2 separate regions of the Homo sapiens genome follow, and region 1 is linked to region 2. The links are contacts of gene promoters, found by promoter capture Hi-C in blood cells and fetal thymus (Javierre and others, 2016). All regions are on one chromosome and are shown on one strand. The core of a region is centred on a gene start or on the middle of the fragment in contact, and the rest is flanking DNA. Distances in the headings are between cores, read along the strand shown.

Region 1 (3,574 bases), core at 867-3,366, 280 kb before region 2:
TGGAACGAATACACCTCAATGTCTCTGGTAAGGCCTTCGGGGAGCGGGTCCTCTGCTCTGGGCAGGGGTGAGTGGGAGGCAGGAAATACCTGACTCCTGGCACAGAGCTCACAAACCGAGCTTCCTGCAGAGCTCAGGCAGGGGACGCCAGCGGATGACGATGGCGATGCAGCAGCACTAGACAGAGCTGCGGGACCTCGGATGTCCCATCTGACCCTCAGTTCCTGCCCCTCTGGGACCTGGATTCCAAAGTTATCGGATCTCCTGATCTTTCCCTCTTTCTTTCTCACCATGTATTTTTCAGCTTTTGTGACAAACTCGTGTTTGGCCTTAGTACTGGAACCATCCAAGCACCGCATTCCTTTAGTGGGGTGGGTCTGCATGTAACCAGCCTCAGCTCTCCCCCAGGCTGGACCGCCCCCTTCAGACATTGGGGTCTGAAGCTGCATCGCTCACCCCAAACTTAGGGCTGCTCAGAGCTCCCTATAGAGGAAACTGGGTGTGGAACGGAGTAACCACACTCCCTAGGGCAGAGGCCCCAGACCTGTGTTTGATGGGTCAAATCCACCCCTACATGTGCAGTGCCATAACTGAGCCTGTGTTATAAAAATCATAAAATGTTTGTTTTACTTTTTTTCCTCTTCTTTTCCCCTTCCCCTTCCTTTCCCTTTTTATGAGACAGGGTCTCGCACTGTCATCACCCAGGCTGGAGTGCAGTGGCGCGATCTCAGCTCACTGCAGCCTTGATCTCCCGGGTTCAAGCAATCCTCCCACCTCCAAAGTAGCTAGGATCACAGGTGCATGCCACCATGCCCAGCTAACTTTTTAATTTGTTGTAGAAATGGGTCTTGCTATGTTGCCAGGCTGGTCTTGAACTCCTGGCCTCAAGCAATCCTCCTGCTTCAACCTCTCAAAGCATTAGGATTACAGGCATGAGTCACCGCACCCGGCCTGATCTTCTGATTTTTCAAGAGACGATGGAAATCTAGATTTTCCAGTGAAATCTCCCAGCATGTTAATGTTCATGGCAAGTTCTCATGAGCTCTTCAAGGTCAGATGACACTGTTGTTGAACCCCAAAGGCCAGGTTTGAGCTCCCGATGCGTAGTCAGCCAAACACTGACACCTCAGTGCTTAGAAGCTGAGATAGGATTATTTAATTTAGCCAAAGCAAGGGGACAGAAGAGAGAAACTCTCAAATCTGACCTGACTTTGAGCGTTAGTGGGGGCTTTTATGAGTAAAGTAGGTGTGCAGGAGGTGACCTCCCGATCGTCAAAGCTGTTGTGCCCCTCGGCTCATCAAATTTCTGGATGTCATCAAGGAGGTCTGTGTGACCTAAGGATCATTGTTCTTTGAAAGAGAGACAAGTTCATTTATCTTGCAGGCAGCTGCCAGGGAGTCAGGATGTAAGTTAAACAATTATGAGTGAATTAATGGTTACCTGCTACTGAAATGACCAAATGTAACTAATCATGCATGGAGGAAGGAAAGGACAAAGAGAAAAGAAAAGAAGTAAAACGAACATCTTATAATTTTTATAACATAGGTTCAGTTATAGCACTGCACATGTAGGGGTGGCTTTGACCCATCAAACACAGGTGTGGGGGGCCCCTGCCACAGGGAGTGTGGTCACTCCGTTCCACACCGTTTCCCGGATGGGCAGTTCTGAGCAGCCTTAAATTTGGGGTGAGCAATGCAACTTCAGACCCCGCTGTCTGAAGGAGGTGGTCCAGCCTTGGGGAGAGCTGAGGCTGGGTGCACACAGACCCACTCCACTAAAGGAATGCGGTGCGTGGATGGCTGCAATACTGAAGGAAGCCATGAAAGTAACACAAGTTTGTCAAAGCTGAAAAGTCCGTGAACTAAACTGATAAAATTCACTTAGAGGTGGTGGGAATAGGCCGGGCACGGTGGCTCACGCCTGTAATCCCAGAACTTTGGGAGGCCGAGGCAGGCGGATCACAAGGTCAGGAGATCGAGACCATCCTGACTAACACAGTGAAACCCTGTCTCTACTAAAAATGCAAAAAGTTAGCCAGGCGTGGTGGCAGGCGCCTGTAGTCCCAGCTACTCAGGAGGCTGAGGCAGGAGAATGGCGTGAACCCGGAAGGTGGAGCTTGCAGTGAGCTGAGATCACGCCACTACACTCCAGTCCGGGCGACAGAGCGAGACTCTGTCTCAAAAAAAAAAAAAAAAAAAAAAGAGGTGGTGAGGTGGTGGGAATAGAACTTTGCAATCATTCAGAAAGCAGACATCCGGCAATGAGCATGAAAGAAAAGTAGATCACAGTTCCCAAGGAGGCTTAGTGTGGTCAAGGCCTTTCAGAGGGGATTTCGGGTGAGCAAAAGTGATTCAAAGTGGAGAAAAGCAGGACTGCGTTGGGTGCAGTGGTTCCCGCCTGTAACCCCAGCACTTTGGGAGGCTGAGATCGGAGGATCGTTTGAGCCCAGGAGTTTGAGACCAGCCTGGGTAACATGGCAAGACCCTGTCTCTACAAAATGTTTAAAAAACTAGCTAGGTGTGGTGGCACATGCCTGTAGTCCCAGTTACTCAGGGGGCTGAGGTGAGAGGATTGCTTGAGCCTAGGAGGTTGAGGCTACAGTGAGCTAGGATTGCGCCACTGCACTCCAGCCTGGGTGACAAAGCAAGACCCTGTCTCTAAAGAAAAAAAGAGGCCGGGTGTGGTGGCTTACACCTGTAATCCCAGCACTTTGGGAGGCCAAGGCGGGAGGATCACTTGAGGTCAGGAGTTCAAGACCAGCCTGGCCAACATGGCGAAACCCTGTCTCTACTAGAAATACAGAAAAATTAGCTGGGTGTGGTGGTGGGCACCTGTAATCCCAGCTACTCGGGAGGCTGAGGCAGGAGGATCACTTGAACTGGGGAGGTAGAGGTTACAGCGAGCCAAGATCGCGCCACTGCACTCCAGCCTGGGTGACAGAGGGAAACTCCATCTCAAAAAAACAACAACACAACAACAACAACAATAACAACAAAAAAACAAAGCAGGACTGGAGAGAGGTGGAATGAAGTGGCAAGGGGTTCCTGAGGGGTGATTTGGGACAGGACATCTAAAGCCAGGTGTACGCTCACGTCCTCAGTCCCCCAGGCTCCTGCACGGGCTCTGTTCTTTTGCAGAAAGGCCTTTTCCACCTCATATCCAGCTCCCTCCAGAAATTCAAGAGTCCCAGGAAGTCACTCTGACCTGCTTGCTGAATTTCTCCTGCTATGGGTATCCGATCCAATTGCAGTGGCTCCTAGAGGGGGTTCCAATGAGGCAGGCTGCTGTCACCTCGACCTCCTTGACCATCAAGTCTGTCTTCACCCGGAGCGAGCTCAAGTTCTCCCCACAGTGGAGTCACCATGGGAAGATTGTGACCTGCCAGCTTCAGGATGCAGATGGGAAGTTCCTCTCCAATGACACGGTGCAGCTGAACGTGAAGCGTGAGTCTCCCCGGCATGCCTGTGGGAAGGGCAAGGTCTGTGTCACCTTCTCCCCAGCCCCGCAGGGGGCATGCACCCAGGGCAGGGGGAAGCCTGCACAGACGGCGGCATCCTCCAGCCCTGGTCACGC
Region 2 (3,368 bases), core at 447-2,946:
CCACGCCCAGCCATTGCCTTATAATTTTTTACTGATGTCAGATATTGTTAATTTTACAGTGTTGGATGCTGGATTTTTTTTAATCTCTATAAATATTCTTGAATTTTGTTCTGGAATGCAGCTAAATAATAGCTTGATCCTTTCGGGCCTTGCTTTTAAGCATGGTTGGTTAGTCAGCATCAGAGAAGTATTTCATCTAGGGCAGGGGCAGGGGTCTCCAAACCCCAAGCCGTGAACCAATACAAGTCCATGGCCTGTTAGAAACCAGGCTGCACAGCAGGAGGTGAGTGGCGTATGGGTGAGCATCACTGCCTGAGCTCCACCTCCTGCCAGATCAGGAGCGGCATTAGATTCTTACAGGAGCGCAAACCCTATTGTGAACTGTGCATACGAAGGATCTAGATTGCGCACTCCTTATGAGAATCTAATGCTTAGGCGGGGCATGGTGGCTCACACCTGTAATGCTAGCACTTTGGGAGGCTGAGATGGGCTGATCACTTAAGGTCAGGAGTTCAAGACCAGCCTGGCCAACATGGTGAAACCCCGTCTCTACTAAAAATACAAAAATTAGCTGGGCATGGTAGCGGGCGCCTGTAATCCCAGCTACTCAGGAGGCTGAGGCAGTAGAATCGCTTGAACCCCGGAGGCAAAGATTGCGCTGAGCCGAGATCGGGCCACTGCACTCCAGCCTGGGTGAAAGAGGGAGACTTCACCTCAAAAAAAAAAACAGGGAAGAAAAAAAAAAAGAGAGAGAGAGACAGAGAATATAATGCCTCACGACCTGAAGTGGAACAGTTTCATCCCGAAACCATCCACTGCTCCCACCCTCCATCCCCCAGACTGTGGAAAAATTGTCTTCCATGAAACCAGTCCCTGATGCTCAAAAGGTTGGGGACTGCTGGTCTAGCGCAGACCTCTCACACCTGCTGTGTCCCAAATTGACCCACCCCTGCTGCTTATTTTTACCACCCCTACCTGGTGGTGCGTCTGTCTCCCCACTCAACTGTGAGCTCCGTACAATAGGGACCAGGGCTGTTGTGGTCACCATGGTGTCCCCAGCATCACCCAGCACAGGGTCAGCTCCCTGAGTTTATGGAATGGTAAGCACGAATGAATGGGAAAACGCATGCCAGGGAAATGTTAGGGTCATGCTCTCTGCCCCTACCCTCCACTCAGACATGAGACACCTGTTTCTGAAATCAAAGAGCAGTAAGTCCAGGATCTCATTGCCTGGTTCCAGTCCTCCTAGGACGCAAGTCCCATTTTGTCAAGAAAATAAAGGGGGTGAGCGTGGTGGCTCACGCCTGTAATCCCAACATTTTGGGAGGCCGAGGCGGGAGGATCGCTTGAGCCCAGGAGTTCAAGAGCCCAGAAGCTGAGACTAGCCTGGGCAACAAGTGAGATCCCATCTCTATTAAAATAAAAGTGTTTAGTTAAAAGAAGAAAAAGAAAATAAATGGAAGCATCAAGGACTGTTTTGCCTCTTTCGGGTTAGCTGGTAGTGAGCGGGAGAACGAGGGAAGGCGGGCGGGGCTGCAGTCTCTCCACGCCCTTTTCATTTCCACTCAAGGAGACCTACCTGGGAAGAGTGAGCGCTGCAAGACCCAGCCTGACCGCGCTAAGATTACTATGCAGCGCCCGAGCCCGCTGTCTGCCCGGCAACCGATGACGTCACTGTTGGCGCGCCCGTGACGTCAGAGGCGGGCGCCACACTTGAAGAGGCTGAGGGAGGCGGTGTCGCCGCCGCGGCGCTGTCATGGAGCTAGCGCAGGAAGCGCGGGAACTGGGTTGCTGGGCGGTCGAAGAGATGGGGGTGCCCGTGGCGGCCCGGGCCCCGGAATCGACGCTGCGCAGGTGAGGACCGCTCCTGGAGTGAGGACACCCCACCCTGGAGATTGAGTCTCCGGGAGTGAGAACTCCACCCCTCATTGAGGACTCGACTCCCCCCAATTCCCCATCGAGAGTGACCCGACTTACTGAGGGCTCCCTACCCTGGGAGGCTCCCCAGAGTGAGGTCCCTAGCACTGGTGAGGATCCTCCACGAGTTAGCTAAGACCTCGCTCCTTATGGAAATAGGATCTCCAGAGTGAGGCTGTCCCCGCAGCACCTCCCCTCCCTCCCTTAACCTAACCAAGAAGGACACTCAGGAGTTAGCCGTGGCCACCCCATCGGGGATTGAAGCTGTAGGAGTGATGCCCCACGTCTGGTCATGAGATGGCACTTCCTGGCAGTACATCCCCCACCTCCACCTCTGGATGTGACTGGGATAACCCACTCCCAGGAGAAAGGGAGCACCCGCCTCTCCCGCGCTCCCCCACCACCCGCCTTCCCAGGGAATGAGAATAACACCACACTTAGTGCAAACATCCAGTCCCTACAAAAAAAATGTTTTACCAATTAGCCGGGTGTAGTGGTGCCTGCCTGTAGTCCTAGCTACTCTGGAGGCTGAGGTGGGAGGATCGCATGAGCCCAGGAGGTTGAGGCTGCAAGGAGCTATGATCGTACCACTGCGACAGAGCGAGACTGTCTCTTAAAAAAAAAAAAAAAAAAAAGGCAAAAAAAAGTTTGGGCCTTCCCTCCTCAAGAAGTGAGAACTCCCTAGTAAAAACTCCCTACCACCATCACCCTAGGAATGAGGATCCCACACCCTGTGTGCTGCCCCAGGCATATGCTTACACACTGTCCCCACAGGCTGTGTCTGGGCCAGGGGGCTGACATCTGGGCCTACATCTTGCAGCATGTGCACAGTCAGAGGTAAGCTGGGCTAGAGCAGGGGAGGGGGCACAGGTGAGGCCCATAGTAACTCCTCTTTCTGCCTCTGCACTGTAGGACTGTCAAGAAGATCCGGGGAAACCTACTCTGGTAACTGCTTCTTAAAGCTATCCCCTCCTGTCTTCCCCACTCCCATTTAGCCCTGTCCCCACCACAGCATCACACCTATTGCCCTCCCCCCTAGAAGCCCCACTCATCCGCTGACTCTGGCCTCGTTTTCCTAGGTATGGCCACCAGGACAGTCCACAGGTGAGAAGCATATGCTACAAGATTCTCTTTCATCCGAAAAATGACTTGTAGATCTTCTGCTCTAAGCCCAACCAGGTGCTGGGTGATGCTGGGGACAATGGGTCACAAGACAGCCTTGATCTCCATCCTCATAGGGCTTAAAGTCCAGTGGAAACAGCATTAGCTCAGCCAGGTGCAGTGGCTCACACCTGTAATCCCAGCACTTTGGGAGGCTCACCTGAGGCCTCATCTCAGGTGATGAGATCACCTGAGGGCTCCAGGAAGCGATCAGTACTGGGACAAAGATGTGGTTTGGGAGGCGGATCACCTGAGGTCAGGAGTTCGAGACCAGCCTGGCCAACACGGTG

What was found. The method cuts DNA at HindIII sites, captures the fragments that hold promoters and counts their contacts. A CHiCAGO score of 5 or more calls a contact.
Region 1: a contact is called between a fragment that was not itself captured here and the fragment with the promoter of HAUS5 in region 2, in 1 of 17 cell types (M1 macrophages). The highest score is 6.0, in M1 macrophages.

Annotation. Positions count from the first base shown.
Region 1 is chr19:35,332,898-35,336,471 of GRCh38, forward strand. CD22 (CD22 molecule) reads left to right here. Exons shown (of 14, transcript NM_001771.4): 3 at 1-27; 4 at 3,139-3,444. Among named protein-coding and RNA genes, the nearest start is that of CD22, 5.5 kb to the left of the region's middle. RefSeq lists a silencer at 408-617. The HindIII fragment of the contact is 4,678 bases long and covers 1-3,574 here.
Region 2 is chr19:35,611,039-35,614,406 of GRCh38, forward strand. It overlaps HAUS5 (HAUS augmin like complex subunit 5), which reads left to right and starts at 1,697. Exons shown (of 19, transcript NM_015302.2): 1 at 1,697-1,854; 2 at 2,692-2,754; 3 at 2,830-2,862; 4 at 2,997-3,021. The coding sequence starts at 1,757. It overlaps HAUS5-DT (HAUS5 divergent transcript), which reads right to left and starts at 1,626. Exons shown (of 2, transcript NR_186318.1): 1 at 1,580-1,626. RefSeq lists enhancers at 1,431-1,986, 1,575-1,834. The HindIII fragment of the contact is 7,658 bases long and covers 1-3,368 here.